3 separate regions of the Homo sapiens genome follow, and all the other regions are linked to region 1. Evidence: promoter capture Hi-C in 16 types of primary human blood cells and fetal thymus (Javierre and others, 2016). All regions are on one chromosome and are shown on one strand. The core of a region is centred on a gene start or on the middle of the fragment in contact, and the rest is flanking DNA. Distances in the headings are between cores, read along the strand shown.

Evidence for each region. Contacts are between HindIII fragments. The CHiCAGO score rates a contact against its expected background, and 5 or more counts as called.
Region 2: a fragment that was not itself captured here is called in contact with the fragment with the promoter of RANBP9 in region 1 in 4 of 17 cell types (fetal thymus, total B cells, activated CD4 T cells and 1 more); the score reaches 10.0 in fetal thymus.
Region 3: a contact is called between a fragment that was not itself captured here and the fragment with the promoter of RANBP9 in region 1, in 5 of 17 cell types (activated CD4 T cells, naive B cells, total CD4 T cells and 2 more). The highest score is 8.7, in activated CD4 T cells.

The regions. Positions count from the first base shown.
Region 1 is chr6:13,710,113-13,714,289 of GRCh38, forward strand. It overlaps RANBP9 (RAN binding protein 9), which reads right to left and starts at 1,723. Exons shown (of 14, transcript NM_005493.3): 1 at 823-1,723. The coding sequence starts at 1,393. It overlaps LOC124901264 (a long non-coding RNA gene), which reads right to left and starts at 2,642. Exons shown (of 2, transcript XR_007059462.1): 1 at 2,571-2,642; 2 at 2,240-2,429. RefSeq lists silencers at 668-787, 1,048-1,097, 1,178-1,297, 1,458-2,227. The HindIII fragment of the contact is 8,985 bases long and covers 1-4,177 here.
Region 2 is chr6:15,664,081-15,668,257 of GRCh38, forward strand. No RefSeq gene overlaps it. Among named protein-coding and RNA genes, the nearest start is that of DTNBP1, 3.1 kb to the left of the region's middle. The HindIII fragment of the contact is 657 bases long and covers 923-1,579 here.
Region 3 is chr6:15,625,437-15,629,613 of GRCh38, forward strand. DTNBP1 (dystrobrevin binding protein 1) reads right to left here. Exons shown (of 10, transcript NM_032122.5): 5 at 1,907-2,039. Among named protein-coding and RNA genes, the nearest start is that of DTNBP1, 36 kb to the right of the region's middle. The HindIII fragment of the contact is 2,566 bases long and covers 1,128-3,693 here.

The DNA.
Region 1 (4,177 bases), core at 473-2,972:
CCTAGGAGAGGTAGGTGAGGGAGGAAAGGGGCAAGCACAAGCCTAAGGTTGTTGTTTTTAACTGCAAGTGCAAAACATAAGCCAATTTTCTTCAAAATACTAAGCTGCATTTTGTTCCATCTTCGTTTTCAACAAGACTTCATGTGATATCAACACCTAAGGACCTGTATAGGGCACTTCCAATCGGGAGGGGTAGGTTTCTGCTCCCCTAAGAAAAAGGGTGTTCCTGGGGTTCCCTTCTCTTACCCTCCCGGTTGCTTTTACTAAAATATATTGATGGCAAACTTGGGCCCCTTGTCCTTTTGTCCCCCTAGACAATCTCTGGCCTAATTTTGATTACTCCTCCCCCTGTGTATCCCTGCTCTCTCTTAATTAGAAATCATACCTCAGAATCGTGCCTCTCTTCCCCCCTTGTAAGAGGAGAACGCCTGACCCACCACCTGGAGAACAATGTAACCCAACTCCGAGTCCATGGATTCCTCTACCCAAGCCCCAAGATTTATCTCCCAGGGAAATCAGAAAGCCAGTTCTGTCCTGTCATCCCGGATTCCCTCAAGGTGTCCTGCTCCTGGTCTAGGATTACCAGCTCCTTTCTACCCTGGGGCATTCTACTCACCTTCCTTTTCCAAGAATCTCGCCCCTCACCCTCGGACCCTTCACCGCGACCCCCGCGCCCACCCGGAGCAGCACAACAGGCGGCGAGTGGCCTCCGAGGGCAGAGCCCGCGAGGGCGGGGGTCGGGGGCGGGTCGAGAGCGGCGCAGCGGCGGCCGGCCACGTCGGGTCAGTGCCCCACTCCCACCGCAGGACACACGCCCAGTACCTTTGTAGTGCACCCGCAGGTTGTTCTGAGAGAGGCCGATGTAGCTGAACTTGTCCTTCGGGCTCCAGGACCGAGGCAGCGGCGTCTCTTGTTCGTCCACGGCCGGGTAGAGACGCTTCAGCCGCCGCTGCAACTCCTTCTCCTGCTCGTTCAGGGCCGAGTCCCCGTGAGGGAAGGGGGCCGCGGCGCTGCTGCCCGCCACCAGAGCTGGGGTCGGGGCTCCTCCAGCCGGGCCGGGGCCCGCTGCAAGGCCCGGGGGAGCGGGCGGCCCGCTGGCGGGGGCAGCCGCTGAGGCAGGGGGAGGCGGGGGCGGCGGCGGGGGCGGCGGGGCCGCGGTGGCCGGGGGCGGCGGCGGCGGAGGGTGGAGGAGCAGGGCGGCCGCCGCGGCCCCTAAGCCTTCGCCGCCCGCACCGCCGCCGGGCGAGCCGGCCGGAGAAGAGCCGGCGCTGACGGCCGGGGGCGCCGGCAGGACGACTCCGGAGACTGGGGCCAAGGCCGCCGGCGGTGGCGGCGACAGCTGCTGCTGCTGTTGCTGCTGCTGCGGCGGCGGCGGCGGCGGCTGCCCGGACATCCCGGCCGCGACTCAGCCTGCGGCCACCTCCACCTCTTCTCTCCTTCCTCCTCTGCTTCCCGGGGGCGCTGTCGCTGCGGCCGCCGGCACCAGGCGCCCAGTCCGCCCGCCCCGGAAGCAGGCGGCGGGCCGCGCGCCCAGGGAGACCGCGGCGGTTGAGGAGCTCGGAGACGCGGGAGTAGGCGGCGGGCCCGGGAGGCCGGGAGAGAACGTTGGCCGGAGCGCGGGCGCGCGGCCCGGGGACGAGGCGCCGAGGGCGGGGGCGACGCGGGAGCGCGGGAGGGGAAGGCGCGCTGGCGGCCGCCGCGGCCGCTGCTCTCGCGGCTGTTTCCCGGCGGGCGGGCCGGGCCGGCGCGAGACGCTGCGCGCGGGCGGCGCTAGGCGAGGGGGCGGGACGGAGGCGCGAGAGAGGCGCGAGCGGTGCGAGGGGGCGGGCCGCGGGGCTCCCGGCTGTGCGCCGCGAGGCGTCCTCCCGGGCCCGCCAGTCGCTCGTGGGCAGGATCGCTGGGCTCCCGGCGCCGCAGGTCCCTTCGGAGGTGTCCGCCTCCTCTCCCTTGGCGGCCGCCGTCGCCCCCCTCGCCGGCGAATCCCCTCCCACTTGACTTCTTTTTGTTGTCGTCGCCCCACCTCCCCACCGTAGGGCTCCTCGGAGCCGAGGCGCCGCTTCTCGTCCAGGCGAGAGTAATCGAGCCCCGCTGGGGCCGCCGCGAGCCCAGGCCCCGGGGCGCTCTAGGACCCGTCGGCCCGGGGCGTGCGGAGCGGCTCAGGCTCCCCGCGCAGTGCTGCTAGCTCTCGCCTCAGTCCCGTTCCCGTTTGCCGCCTCCCTCCAAAGAGGAACGCATTGCCTTTGGTACTTCAGTGTTTAATTCCGTAGCATTGACCATATGGGCAGTAGAAACCACTTCTGAAGGCAGTCTCCCACTTAGAATAGTGACTGTTTCATTAATTAATTTTACGAGGACTCACAGTGAACTTAACAGTGGTAGAAGATGTCATTAATAAAGACCGGCATATCTTCAAAAAGCAGGAGCAGGCACTGTATGAATACAAGATTATAGTGTGTGTTTAGGAAGGGCTTCTAGAGACGTCAGAACATTTTATAGACTCGTTAATTTTCATAACAGGGTTCTTAGGTAACAGAAAATTATGCCCATTTTTAAAACAAGGAAATATTTACCGAGATCAGCAGAGTCAAAAATAGGACTTCCTACTTTGCAATTCCCAATAGAATGCTTCGTCGACTAATTTGGCACAACTTGCCAAGTGTTGCTCTCTGACCCATCATAACATTACTACTTTGTTTTCACCACTTCCCTTTGTTTAGCTTATCCCTCCCTAGCTGGCAAAATCAGGCTTTGCATATGTAAATTGTGTGATGTAAATTCTGATATTTTGTTTGCTTCCAAAGATATGATGGTAATCATTTGGTCAAATAAGAAATGTTTTGCCGAAGAGAAAATTATTTCGTTTTGAAGAAGGTAGGCCAAAGGTGATTTAATTTAAGGCCAAGATTATCTGGCCAGAACAAATAACAGAGTCATTCGGCCTAATTTCTCCCTCAGTTACCCAGACAACTAGATGTTCTGTTGTACTTTTATTATTATTATTATTATTGTTTTGTCGCCCAGGCTGGAGTGCAGTTGTGTGGTCTCAGCTCACTACAACTTCCGCCTCCCGGGTTCAAGCGATTCTCCTGCCTCAGCCTCCCAAGTAGCTGGGACTACAGGCATGTGCTCACACCCAGCTAATTTTTGTACTTGTAGTGGAGACGGGGTTTCACCATGTTGGCCAGGCTGGTCTCGAACTCCCGACCTCAAGTGATCTACCCGCCTCAGCCTCCCAAAGTGCTGGGATTACAGGCGTGAGCCACCATGCCTGGCCTCTGTTGTAGTTTGATAGAAATATCCATTAATTTTAACCTGTTGTTTGATGACTTTTTTTAAACCACTGCACTTTGAATCACATGATGTCACTGTATTTACAGTGTTCTAACACTTTCATTTATATTACAGTAACAATGAGTTCAATGTAAGCCAAGCTCTATTTAAATGTACGATAGCCATGTTAGAATAAATGGGCTCCAGACGTCATTAAACTTTCTTGAAACACTTTTGAAGATGTACTTTTTTTCTGTCAGCACACTTAGGAACTATCTAGAACTTTCCGTATCTTAGGAACAGCTGAAGGAATAGAATTGTCTAACATTTTGTTGGAAGCATTTTATAAGGGGGACTGGTGGTTCTCCATCAAGAAATTAATGATTTCAGTTGTGGGGGAGGATGCTGTGAAATGAGTACTTTCTCATATAGAAGGAGATAGAGAACATTGATAACGTCCTTTTGGAAAGCTACATACTTGGTTATATTTATAAGGAGACATAAAGGAGTTCATACCTTTTGACTTATCTATCAAAAAGCCAAACAACACAATCTAAATATGAAAATACTTTAGGCTGAAAAATGTTCCACAAGAAGTATTAATGGTAGATTAAATATAGAAGCAAATCAAATGCCCAACCGGAAGAGACTAGAAGAAATTCTAGTCACATGTGAAATTCTAATCACATACCCCACTCAGTGGAGTTATGCTACAGGAGCACATATAGCACATTCGTGCCATTTTTTTTTAAGGTATCCCTTCTGGGCAGTGGAAGTGCCAAAAGAGGTCAACCAATTAGAAAAAGGCACCCCTTCCTCTTGACTTAGTGGATCCTGGGCCCACCTTCAGACCCACTCTCTCCAGGCTTCTTGCACAGGCACAGCCTGAAACAAATATTTTATGGCC
Region 2 (4,177 bases), core at 1-2,500, 2.0 Mb after region 1:
CATTCCCCATATTAACCCATCAAATCCAATCAACTCTACTCCTGAAGTATTTCTGGAACCTCCTTCTCTTTCTATATCTTCACTATATTTATCCTGGTCGAAGGCACCATCCTCTTTCAATGGGAACACAGACAGTTCTTCCAGATTCTACTCTTTTGCCATACACACCCCTATAATCCATCCTTGACACAGCAGCCAGAAAGAGTTATTTAAAAGATCAATCGGATCACGTTGCTCCCCTGCTTAAAATCTTCCAATTGCCTCCTGGGCACTTGGAATAAAATTCAAACTACTTACCCCCTTAAAAAGCCCTAAAATTTGAATGTTTTCTAGCACTGTATCCAAATTGATTACTAGTCACCTATCATGTCCTTGACAATTAAGACATAATAGCCTTTTTTTTTTTTTTTTTTTTGGTGTGTTCTTAGAAAATTCCAGGTTTATTTCCACCTGTGGTGTTTTCACAAACTTTTCTCCAAACTGTCCCTTGTCTGGCTCCTTATAACATAAGGGTCACATCCTAAATAGCATCACATTAGATAGGTTTTACTTACCATTCAAGTTACACACCCAATCACTTCCTATCACGTAGCCTGTTTCTCAACTTAGTACACATTAGAAAATTTATTCAATAATTATTTGCTATTTATTAATTTAGTTGTTTACAAACATATTTTAAAACCACGACAAATAAGGCATTCACCTCAGGTACAAAATTTACGGGAGCCAAAAAGCTCAGTAATCAAGATAAGTAATATTTTAATACAATATTTAAAAAATTCAAAATTAATGAAAAAAAATCTGTGATGAACAAAATATCAAAATTTTAAATACACAGGATCTGTTAGGGCTGGGATTGGATGAGGCCAGTGAGGTAAGTAGCACAAGTACAGGCCCAGATGTAAACTGCTCTGTCTTATTAAGCTTTGCATCCCCAGCAATGAAAACAGTGAATGGCACATAACAGACACCCAGTAAATGTCTTGTTGCAGGAGTTAAATAAGATAAAGGACTTAGCTTGTAGCTGGGGGACCACCTCTTCCCCACTCTTGATGTTTTCTTCCATGGGAAGGGAGCTCTTCTGCTAACATAAAGAAGTACCCAGCCTCTCCTGGTGGGGAAGAGGTGACTACGATGATTAGTGAGCTAGAAGTAAGGAGCTTGGTCTCATCTTCTTTTCTTTTTGTTGAGTGAACACTTCCAACAAAGAGCATTCATTCTGCTGCCTAAAGACAGGCTTGAAGGGCAACCCAGTGCTTTTTGTGACTGGGTACTAGAAGTTCTGCTTGCCCATGAATATAAGCCATGTGTTCCATCAGTCTTCCTAGATATAAAAGTGATATTTTGGCCTCTTTATGCTGACACTATTGTTTTATTTCTCAGTTTGCTCAGACAAGTAAGAAAGAGGAGTGCTGTTTATTGAGCCTTCTTCTACCTCTCAGAAACAGTGCCTGGAACAAAGCAAGTGATCAAATGATCAAATCTACAGACAGGTCCCTTAGTATCTAGTAGATTTGAAAACCACAAGTACTGGGAAATATTAAATTTTTTTCTTTTATTCAATTAAACTCTACACATAAGCTTTCAATTTACTAAGTTTCATACATTCCAACAAAGCACCAAATCCACTCAAAAAAGACTCTTGCCTGTCACTAAAAAATAGCTTTACTGGTTGTGCCTGATCATTTCTGTCTTGACCAATGCACTGTTTATTAGTCTATGGCATGTTTGTATTTGAGGTGCTTTCTGAACATTCTTAATTCCATCATATCTATTAAATTAAAAAACAGTGAAAGTTTTAAAAGTGCTAATAAAAAGATAATTTATGATTTAAAGAAGTAAATATTAAAAAAATTAGAAAATAACTACTGTTGTACATGAGTTGCTCAGGAGGAATGATTAAGGACCAAGAGTTGAAGCATGTGACATGTCGTGTTTACATAAGTAACAGTAATCAGCCAGAAACTAGGAAGATGGATTGGCAAAATGAAAAAAAAAACAAAGCTTTTAAGTACAGTTTGAGAACCAACATCAGTATGGAAGCTATTGACCTAATCTTAATTCAGGAATTGGTTGAGAGTTGATTGTTGTTTGTTTGGGGTTTTTTTGTTTGTTTTGTTTTAAGACGGAGTCTCCCTCTGTCACCTAGGCTGGAGTGCAGTGGTGCAATCTTGGCTCACTGTAGCCTCCACCTCCTGGGTTCAAGTGATTCTCCTGCCTCAGCCTCCTGGGTAGCTGGGATTACAGGCTTCCGCCACCACGCCCAGCTAATTTTTGTATTTTTAGTAGAGACAAGGTTTCACTATGTTGGACAGGCTGGTCTCAAACTCCTGACCTCAAGTGATCCGCCTGCCTTGGCCTCCCAAAATGCTGGGATTACAGGCATGAGCCACCGCGCCCAGCAGAGAGTTGATTTTTTGAGAGCATATTAGTTGCGCCCAGGAAAAGCTTTGGTGATACAACGTTTGGGGTGAGCACCAAAGCTGCTAAGAAGTTTCCTGAAATAGTGCTTCCCTGACCAGCAGCAGCCGCATCATCTGGGAGCTTCCTGCAAAGGTAGAATCGTAGGCCCCAGCCAGCCCTACTGAATCAGAATCTGAGTTTTATTAAGACCCCCCGGGTGATTTTTATTCATGTTAACATTTGAGAAGCCCTACTCGTTGATGAAAGGGGGTTTCCTGTCTCAGCAGATTCTTATTGGAGACAAAGTGATAAATGAGGATTTGGCGGAGTTAGAACCAAAGAGAAAGATGCTATTAAAGAAGGGGTGGTACGAAAGAAACCACCATCAGAGCGAACAGGCAACCTACAGAATGGGAGAAAATTTTTGCAATCTACTCATCGGACAAAGGGCTAATATCCAGAATCTACAATGAACTCAAACAAATTTACAAGAAAAAAACAACCCCATCAACAAGTGGGCAAAGGATGTGAACAGACACTTCTCAAAAGAAGACATTTATGCAGCCAAAAGACACATGAAAAAATGCTCATCATCGCTGACCATCAGAGAAATGCAAATCAAAACCACAATGAGATACCATCTCACACCAGTTAGAATGGCGATCACTAAAAAGTCAGGAAACAACAGGTGCTGGAGAGAATGTGGAGAAATAGGAACACTTTTACACTGTTGGTGGGACTGTAAACTAGTTCAACCATTGTGGAAGTCAGTGTGGCGATTCCTCAGGGATCTAGAACTAGAAATACCATTTGACCCAGCCATCCCATTACTGGGTATATACCCAAAGGACTGTAAATCATGCTGCTATAAAGACACATGAACACATATGTTTATTGTGGCACTATTCGCAATAGCAAAGACTTGGAACCAACCCAAATGTCCAACAATGATAGACTGGATTAAGAAAACGTGGCACATATACACCATGGAATACTATGCAGTGAAAAAAATGATGAGTTCATGTCCTTTGTAGGGACATGGATGAAGCTGGAAACCATTATTCTCGGCAAACTATCGCAAGGACAAAAAACCAAACACCGCATGTTCTCACTCATTGGTGGGAATTGAACAGTGAGAACACATGGACACAGGAAGGGGAACATCATACACTGGGGCCTGTTGTGGGGTGGAGGGAGGCGGGAGGGATAGCATTAGGAGATATACCTAATGTTAAATGACGAGTTAATGGGTGCAGCACACCAACTTGGCACATGTACCCTAAAACTTAAAGTATAATAATAATAAAAAAAAAGCAGGAAAAAAAAGAAGGGGCTGTAGAACCCAGAAAAGTTCATACCATTTCATTGGCAGAGCTCTTTTAGAGTAATTGGAAAGGGACTATGGTTAATTGCTTTGCAGGAACCTGACTTAGATTTGTAAAGATATTTACAGTGTGTTGTTATTATTTGTGATGTTTTTAAAAAGCCAACATGTAAATATTTTTGATATCTTTAATTTTTAAGAGTTTAATGGTTACAGAAGAATCCATGTAAAAGCTGTAAATGTTTCTCGTGAAGCAATGAGTATTTTTAAGAATGAGGTAAGCTAGATAAAGCTGGAAAGGTGATATCAGCACAGCATTTTGAAAAGAAAAGCAGAGACAGAAATCAGGGAGGTGAAGGAGGAGAGTTCCAACCTCAGAGAGTAAAGATTAGAACGCAGCTGAAGAACAGGAGAGAAGGGGGTAGTTAGAGAATATCAAGGTCGGAAGAC
Region 3 (4,177 bases), core at 1,161-3,660, 1.9 Mb after region 1:
CTAAAAAAGAGAGGATTCAAGTGAACATTTGGAAGGCCTACCTTGTGCATTTAAGAAGCCAAAATGCAGTTTCTGAAGAATAAGGTCATGTGTCACTAAACATCAAACATTTTTCAGGATATTAGAATCCTAATTGGGAACGAACATACAATATATTCTATGAAAGACTTATAGAGACTGCATTTTCTAAACAGAATTGACTATGAAAATAATGAGAACTGTGGCAGAATGCATTTAATCAATAGAGTGGTATTAAGCAAACAACAACTATCCGTAAACAGATTTACTCTCAGCTGGGGAAATAAAAGAGGTTATCATAAGAGAACATGTCTGCAAAGAAACATACAACCAATGAAAAGCAAGTGACTCAAAGAGATACAGGAAGATGAGCTGAAAGAAAGTGGCTAAGAAGAATGTTCCGAACATCTTAAAGGCTATGTCCAAGGCTTGGGAAGGACCATTACTATACCTGTAAGAGGAAACCAATGCAGACGGCAATCACAGCCATTTTACACTTTTCTAAGACCCAGAATCTCTTTTCCATGCCCTGCCTTCAGAAATAACAAAACACTGACCCTGAAAGGCATGGCAACAGCCAGGGGACTTGAAGAATACAGTTCATAGAGACCTACTGAGAGCTCCCATCCCACTGCCTCATCACCTCATCCTACTGCCTCATACTGATATTGAGGATATCATCAATGTGGTTGGAATCCTAGATGCATTTATAAATTTTATGATTCTGAGCAAGTTGCAACCTCTCCAAGCCTTAGTTTATCTGTAAATTGGGAATAATAAAAGCTACTTTTGTGGGGTTCTTGTGAGAATTACAGATAGTATCTGTAAATCATCTAATCATCTCTGACATACAGTAGGTGCTATAAACATTAGCTACTGTTATCAGCAACAGCACTCCAAATACTACGTATCTATTTTGTTCACACACAAAAAACTGTCTTATGACTTGCCAATTACTTGCCTTGTAAATCAGTCATGTTTTGCTTTGAATAAGGCAATATTAAAAACAGGAGGAGATAATAGGGTATCTTTAGCTTCCCACCTAAAAGACTAAAACAGGTTATTAGCTCATACAGACAGCTCCTACCTCCTACTTTACTAAGATCTTAAGCTTGATTAGGAAATAGTAAGCTGCAATATTATCCTTAGATGTGGCATCATCAAACATAAAAGATAATTTTCTGAATATAAACCCAAGAAAAAAAGAATACCAACATAATCCATCCAAATGAACAACGACAAAAAAATAAATTTCCACAGAGTATAAATTTAGCCAAACAGGTACCCTAATTTACTTTGTTGTTGTTGTTGTTTGAGACAAGGTCTCACTATGTTGCCCAGGCTGGATTCAAACTCCTGGGCTCAAGCACTCCTCCTGCCTCAGTCTCCAGAATAGCTGCAACTGCAGGCACGTGCCACCACACCCAGCACAAGTACCCTCATTTAACCAGGTTTGTTTGATCTCCAATCCGTTTGAAGAGAAAAAAATACACTACAAGACATGAAGTTCTAGCATATCTAAATTTTAAAAGCAACAATTTCTGGAATACATTCTACAGTAAGGACAAAGTCACCTAATCCATTTTCTATATGTATGCTTTTAAACAGAGACCAAATGTCAACAAAGACAACCTGAGTCACTTTAAGAATCAACATAATTATAATTATGTGTCCGGAGCTGACCTGAGGCAGAAACAGAACTAATTTCTACACTTTACATCATTTTCTGTGGAATCCTCAACTAATCAAAATATGAAATCATGATTTTCCAAAAAATCCTGTTAACCCAGAATTTCATGTGTTCCTGAAAAGCTCTGAAATTACACCAAACCCTGCCCAAGTTGTTTTCATTCCTAAAAGTAATGTACAATGAAAACATTGGACTTACTCAGATTTGCTGTCATGGATTCTAAGTCTGCGATTAAAGCTGGGAGCTGCTGGAGCTGCTCTTGCAGCTCCACGAGGCTTGTCTTTTTCTTCTCCCAGTGCGCAGAAAGCATGACCACCTCGCTATCCACCAGCTGCAGCACACAAGAAGGGGGGTAAAGTGAAACCAGGTTTTAGGCACAAAGAAAGTACAGTTAACGTAATGAGATTTAATGTTATCTTTAACAACCCCTCTACTCAGTAGAGATTACGGTACATTCTAAAAGAGACTGAAGTTGTTTTCATTTTTAGAAAAGAAACAACTTAATATTCAGTGCAGGAAACCTCCAATTACTGCTTGTATCAGTGCATCTTAACCCACAGAAGAGAAAGTTTAAAAATGACTTCAGAAGTCACTTCTAAGTATACCCTGTTTTAAGCAGACCATGTATTTGAAAAGCTAAATCTAGAAAAAAAAAAAACAAAAACAAAAAACTACCACTAACAACCAAAAAGAAAACAAACATAAAACATAATTAACGGGTAATTATTGGCTTTACGAAAGGAAGTCTTCAAAGAAAAGTTCCCTAATACATTTAGAATATACCATGTTTCAATTTACATTTAAACAGGAATACTTATTGCATAAAGTATATAAAGGAATTTTGAGGAAACTGGCCAATTCCAGAATTCCAGAAAAAGAGGAAATGATTTAAGTTAATGAGGAATTCAGCAGATGTAAAGGGTTCCTAATAGCAAGGTTGTGAAATTCTAGAATAGCCTAAGATAATTCTAACTTCTTTTGCTAAAGACTATAAAGAAAATGACAGACATTAGTTTCTCCCAGACAATTCTGTTTTGGTCTTAACATAGTGGGAGGGACAAGGGCCTAGAAAGACTTAGAAGGAGCAAGAAGAGGTGATCTTTTGAAAATATCAACATGAATAAGCAAGAACTGTGGAAAAAACTCCATAATCTGTACGATAAAAAATAAAGGTAACAAAACCCATTATATGACAGAAGAAAATGAATTTGAGTATTCAAAACAGACAATTTGTACATCTCAAGATTAAGGTTCTTTTTTTTTTTTTTTTTTTTTTTTGAGACGAAGTTTCGCTCTTGTTGCCCAGGCTGGAGTGCAGTGGTGCTATCTTGGCTCACTGCAACCTCCGCCTCCCAGGTTCATGCGATTCTCCTGCCTCAGACTCCCCAGTAGTTGGGACTACAGGCACCTACCACCACACCCGGCTAATTTTTTGTATTTTTAGTAGAGACAGGGTTTCACCAAGTTGGCCAGGCTGGTTTTGAACTCCTGGCCTCAAGCAATCCACCCATCTTGGCCTCCCAAAGTGTTAGGATTACAGGCATGAGCCACTGTGCCCGGCCAGGATTAAGGCTCTTTAAGAGTTAGAATCTGAATACAACTGATTCTTACTAAGTTCCACTTAATAAATTAAGAAAGAACTTTGGAGGAATGAATATATCAAAGATACAAAATTATTTGTATGTAGTACTAGATTGTTTTTGTTCGTACATTTCACTATAGTAGGAATTCTCATTTGAAATAAAGAACTAAGCTATGACACATCTCCCTGTGGTTTCTCAGCCCACGCTGGAGGGATAAACACATAATCTCTCACATTCAAGCCTCAACTGAGCTGGGAGGCCACATCAAGTTTCACGCAAACCGCATTTCTCATTATTTTTGTGTATTTAAAAATGTCTGTTGCCAACTGGTCTTTAAAAAAAATCTTTAAAAGTAGCTTAAAACATACTGAAAAAACAGCTAAAATGCAGTAAGGAAACCAAAGCTTGAAACAAGGATCTATGTTCACAAAATTCATTTATAATATTCCACAAACTTCCACTGACCACCCACTATTTGCTAAGCCCTATTTTGGATACTGAAGATGTAATGATTCCTGCCCTCTTATTGTTTATACTTCAGTGGCAGCCCTCATAAATTCTCTTAACTTCAGATTTTAAACTCTAAAAAAAAAAATTCCTATATTATGGGCTATTTTGGTTTCTAATTTGAAAACTCTAGAATAAATAATTTTAGATATTAAAAATTACATATTAACCATTTCTTACTGAAAATTAAAGTGCAATGTTTAAATATTGAAATTTAACTACAGTTTAGTTCATACCTGCAATAAAACTGAAAATTAAATTCTGAATATAGAATATAAGCATATGTAGAAAAACTATATCAGAAAACACTAAACTATCATTTAAAAGAATGGAAGGGTAAACAGATTCTCAGAAATTATCAATAATTATCAACAATTAT